Regions from separate parts of the Homo sapiens genome. Here region 1 is linked to region 2. The links are contacts of gene promoters, found by promoter capture Hi-C in human tissues and cell types (Jung and others, 2019). All regions are on one chromosome and are shown on one strand. Each heading gives the region's core, a stretch centred on a gene start or on the middle of the fragment in contact. The rest is flanking DNA. Distances are from core to core; before and after follow the strand shown.

The links. Contacts are between HindIII fragments. The study calls those that stand out against the background at their distance.
Region 1: a contact is called between a fragment that was not itself captured here and the fragment with the promoter of AP5Z1 in region 2, in 1 of the 25 tissues and cell types used here (spleen).

The regions. Positions count from the first base shown.
Region 1 is chr7:2,819,321-2,822,048 of GRCh38, forward strand. All of the region lies in intron 1 of GNA12 (G protein subunit alpha 12), which reads right to left. Among named protein-coding and RNA genes, the nearest start is that of GNA12, 24 kb to the right of the region's middle. RefSeq lists enhancers at 1,687-2,376, 2,377-2,728. The HindIII fragment of the contact is 6,363 bases long and covers 1-2,728 here.
Region 2 is chr7:4,774,219-4,776,918 of GRCh38, forward strand. It overlaps AP5Z1 (adaptor related protein complex 5 subunit zeta 1), which reads left to right and starts at 1,405. Exons shown (of 17, transcript NM_014855.3): 1 at 1,405-1,538. The coding sequence starts at 1,498. RefSeq lists enhancers at 147-823, 824-1,500, 874-923, 964-1,053, 1,484-1,553 and 2 more and a silencer at 1,234-1,363. The HindIII fragment of the contact is 20,755 bases long and covers 1-2,700 here.

The DNA of each region.
Region 1 (2,728 bases), core at 45-2,544, 2.0 Mb before region 2:
GCTGGAACCTTCCTGTTAGTCTCATGACACTCAGGGCAACCAACTGAGCCACACTGTGCCCAGACCTCTGACCCAAGCAACTAGGAGCTAACAAATAAATGTTTTAAGTCCCGAAGCCTGTGGTAATTTGTTACAGTGGCAACAGAAAACCAAAACAGCTGTGGAGGTGTATGTGACTCATTACTGAAAGGTGAGTTTATAAGTGAGAAACACAATAACCAAAAGCAGTCCCCTTAAGAAATTCCCTAGTCTGCATAAAAGACAAATAATCCAAATTAAAAAAATGGGCAAAGGATCTGTATAGCCATATCTCCAAAGAAGATACGCAAATGGCCCATAAGCACATGAAAAGATGCTATACCTCATTCACCATCGAGGAAAGGCAAACCGAAAACGGGATGGCTGGAATTCAAAGGACAGATAAACACAAGCACGGTTAGACCCCAAAGACGTTATATTGGTGGGAACAGAAATGTTGCGGCCAATTCAGAAACACTCGGGTAGCTCGTCAAAATGTTAAACATAAAGCAACCATTTGACTCAGCAATTCCACTCCTAGGAATACACCCAAGAGAAAACATGTTCACACCAAAACCCGCACATGGATGTTTATAGCAACATCATTCATAACACACAAAAGATGGAAAGAACCTAGATGCCACTGACTGAGGCACGGATAAACAAAACGGGGCGTAGCAAAAGGGAATGCTATTCGGCCGCTTAGAGGGATGACGATGCCACGCTACAGCATGGATGAACTTTGAAGAAACGATGCTAAGAAGTCCGTCGCAGAAGACAACATACTGTATGATTCCATTTACATAAAATGTTCAGAAAAGGCAAATCAACAGCGTCGAGAGAAATCCACGGTGTCGAAAGTGGGCTGGTGGCCGCCCGGGGCTGGGGCTGGGGCAGGAGGAAAATGTGCAGTGGCTGCAGGGTTTCTTTCTGGGGTGATGAAAATGTTTTAAAAATTGACTGTGGTGATGGCTGCACAGCTCTGTAAATAGACTGAAGTCCACTGAATTGTAGGCTTTAAATGAGGGCATGGTATGATATGTGAGTTATAGCTCAATAAAGCTTTTTTTTTTTTTTTTTTAAGCTGAGGCCAGGCATGGTGGCTCATGCCTGTAATCCCAGCACTTTGGGAGGCTGAGGTGAGAGGATCGCTTGAAACTAGCCCAGGAGACATGCAAAACCTATCGCTACAAAAAAATAAAAAATAAAATTAAAAAAGCTAAAAAATTGAAAAAGAAAGTCCCAAGCGCTGTAAAGCACAGAGCACGGAAGTGACACACAGTGTGGCAGCTGCTTGTTGTCCAGACCTGCCCCACCGGCCAGTCACCAGCTCCTGACTCACTGACCACCCTGGCCTCTGCCCTGTAATCTTCCAAAGAGGAAACTCCAACTGTGTCTTTTAAAACTTTTTACTTTAGAGACAGGATCTCACTCTGTCACCCAGGCTGGAATGCAGTGGTGCAATCACAGCTCTCTGCAGCTTTCAAGCTCCTGGACTCAAGCCATCCTCTTGCCTCAGACTCCCATGTAGCTGGGATTACAGGCATGCACCACCATGGCCAGCTAATTTCTAAAAATTTCTGATAGAGATGGGATCTCACTATGTTGCTCAGGCTGGTCTTGAACTGCTGACTTCAAGAAACCTCCTGCCTTGGACTCCCAAAGTGCCAGGATTACAGGCGTGAGCCACCGCGCCCGGCCTACATCCATGTTTTCATCAACATGGACAAAACTCCACAGGAATCACTCCCATTTCACAAAAATGTTGTCTAGGTGAAAGATGCCAATCAATTATTCTCTGGTTAATGTTCTGCTTATTCTTGGCTTAAGAATTTTTGTGATGACGCTTAGATTACAGATGTTCTGCAAGACAGGCTGAGAAACAGAATCATTCCAATCACTCCTGCTGTATCCTGAGGGGAGACTCTCCGCCTGTTCAACACAGGGACACGCTGCCTCCCGTGGCAAGGTGACTGTCTTGCTGCTGACTCGGGCAAAAAGACCATGAGAATGAATTCACCAACCAGGGTTCCCTTCCCTCGTAAATACTGTGAGAAAATGGATGTCAGTCTCCAGCTGACCGCAGAGAAATCACGGCCAGGTGTTGGCACTTACAGAGAAGAATGAATACAGAACTGCTTTAATCATCCACTCAGGAAACTCCCCAATTGTATCAATGACTCTATATAAGGAAGCGAGGCTTGCAACTCCAAACGAACTCACTGGGTGGCCCCAAGCAAAACAATTCACCCCAAACGGTGTGCCCTATGGACAAGAGAAACTCCTGCAGTTATTCTATTTTCTCAGCTCCCTGCTCCTCGTTTTCCTCCACCTTAGCAAGACAGTGATGAACAATGCTAGGTAAGCTCTTTCCCTTCCTGTGGCAAGTCTAGTAGCAAAGGGCTAGTTGCCAGGAAACATGAGGTTACACCATATTCCTGCTTAGTGGAATCCTGACCTTCATGTTACTAAAACATGAAAAATACTTTGTTTACAAGATCATCAATATTAAAATTTGGCTTTCAAGTTCCCTAAGACCTTTTTCCTGTATTTATTACAAGAATTTATTTATGCATCCAACAAATACTCAAATGCCTACTATGTGCTGCCATGGTGCCAGGCCCTAGGGACACAGGGGAATCAGACCAGGCCCTCGCATGCCCGCCCAGGCTGACATTCCAGGATGTGATGACTAGAACTATGTAAAATG
Region 2 (2,700 bases), core at 155-2,654:
ATCCACCGATTCCCATCTCTTCATTCTCTGCACCAGGTGCCCTCAGACATCACTGGGCGCCCTAGGGCATCTCAAAGCCATGTTTGGAACTCCTGCAGGAAGCCCTCCCTCCTCCTCCTCCTTCCTTCCATCCAGGGGTCTTCTCGGGGCTTATCCCTTCAAGGCCTAACCTTGACCCACCCTATCTACGCAACATTGATTCCCACCCCTACCCTATTCCCCAGAACCTTCAGCAGTGCCTAGCGCAGCTAGGACTCAATCATCGCTTGTCCACTTAATGAATGACTCTTGGCACAAATTTCCTCGTCCTTTTCTGCCCCAGACAGACACCCCACAAACATGAAGTTACCCTTGATTTTTCCACTTTCTTCCTCCTGCCTGCAAATTCCTCAATCACAGGTGGTGCAAATCCTACCTCTAAATGGTACTGAATCTGCCTACTTTCGGGGCAACCTCCCTTACCTGGACCACAACTGCACCAGCCTCCTTTCTCCCTCAGGAGCTTCCCAATCCATTATCTCCCCTGCGGCCAGAGATCAGTTTCCTCCTGGGGTGCATTTAAGCCATAGGAAGCAGATCGCTACCCTAGGCCCGTCCCTCCCCACCCCTTGGTCTGGACACCCTCTGGGCTCATCTTAGGCCGCAGTCGCCGAAGCCTTCCTCCTCCGGTTGGACCCCCAACCAGGTCAGGCTGTCATAGCGTTTATCATGACGCTGGCGTGTCGCCCTGTGTCCCTCGGCCGTCTGCAGGATGGCAAACTTATGGCCAGGGCCCAGCACATTTGGGCACCCAACACATCCGTTAGAATGAACAGAAACTTCCCCTCTCCGAGCCTGTGGCCTCATCTGTAAAACAGAGATCGCGAGATCCCATGAATACCGTGGGGATTGAATAAGGGATTTTTTCGTTTCAAGCAGCAGGAACAGCGCGGGATGGGTGCTCAATAAATGGGAGCTCAAAAAATCCCCAAAACTGCCCAGAGCCGCGGCTATTCCTTGCAAACTGCTGGACACTGCTGGGCTCAGCCCACAAGTGTCGGAGTTTGCATCAGATTTTCAGGTCGTACTTAGCAAAGGGACTCCCGCACGACAAAGCTGTTTACGAAACAGAAACCAGAACTGGGGCAGTGACACTTTGGGGCCAGCAATGCCCTCTCCCAAAGCCCCAGGCGCCCAATTTCCGCCGAAATGCTTTCCGGGGTCGAAGGGCGCCGGGGCTCCAGAGTGCCGAGGTTCCGGGGTCGCGCGATTCCGCAGCTCCCAGGCGCCGACCCGGACCCCCGGCCGCGGCACCTACGCCCCGCCCCAGTCGCTCCACGCCAAAGCCCATTGGTCGGCAACCTGTCCCTCCTGCTCATGTGATGCGGCACGTGACGCAGCCACGTAAGGCCGCTGCGCTCACGTGACGCGGTCCCGGAAGTTGACCGGGGTGCGGAGCTCCTGGGCTGCAGCTCCTGGAGTTTCCGAGGTTCGTGCGCGTCTGGTGGCGGCGGCGTGATGTTCTCGGCAGGAGCGGAGAGTTTGCTCCACCAGGCCAGGTACGGGGGAGCTGCGGCCCCGGCCCTCCTTCCTGCATCTCTCCCTAGGGGCACACGGGGGTGGGTCTCACAGGGCAGGGGCTTGGGCGCCAGCCTTGCAGGAACCCGACTGGACTCGCCCTCGAGACTTGGGGATCGGGTAAGGCAACACGGCGGCCAGGCTTGGGGTGAGGAGGTCGGGGAGGGTCATGGTGGGTCCCCGGAGGAGGTGACACTTGAGCAGAGTCTTGGTGAGTGAAAGCAAGTGGGGTGGGACCCAGTCGACAGTTTAGTCAAAGGCTTGGCGGTGAGAACTCCGCGTCTGGCAGGAAATCGGGCAGCCGGGAGATTTCAGTGCCTCACAGTCAAGAACGCAAAGTCACAGTGTCCGGAGGCCTGCTAAGGAATAAGGCTGTGTGCCAGGCTGGGGAGCTGGAGGCCATCCGAGGGCTTTGCGGAACCGTGGGAGGGTTTTGTGACTTAAAAAGATCTCTCTTGCGCGGATGTATTAGCTAGGCTGAGAAATCACCCTCCAGGCTGGTTTCAGGCTGTGTCTGGACTCCCAGTAACGAGTGAGTAGCTCCTTCCTCACCAACTAACCAGTCATGGGGGAAAACAGTGTAAGCCAGGACTGAACAGACTCACGGTCCACCAAACAGGCAAAGACTTCATACTACATGTTTAAAAGAAGAAAATGCTGACCGGGCGTGGTGGCTCACGCCTGTAATCCCACCACTTTGGGAGGCCAAGGCAGGCGGATCACCTGAGGTCAGGAGTTCGAGACCAGCGTGCCCAACATGAGGAAACCACGTCTCTACTGAAAATACAAAAAAAAAAAAAAAAAAAAAAATTAGCCGGGCGTGGTGGTGGGTGACTGTAATCCCAGCTACTCGGGAGGCTGAGGCAGGAGGATTGCTTGAACCTGTGAGGTGGAGGTTACAGTGAGCTGAGATGGCGCCACTGCACTCCAGGCTGGGGGACAGAGCGAAACTCCGTCTCAAAAGAAAAAAGAAAAAAAGTAAAGAAAATACAGCCAGCACTACAGCCCCTTGGTAAACGTAAACAAACTTGGTGAGGTGAGAGGCCGAAGCAGGAGAAGTGCATGAACCCAGGAGGCCGAGGGTGCAGTGAGCCAAGATCGCACCACTGGACTCCAGTCTGGGTGACAGAACGAGACTCCATG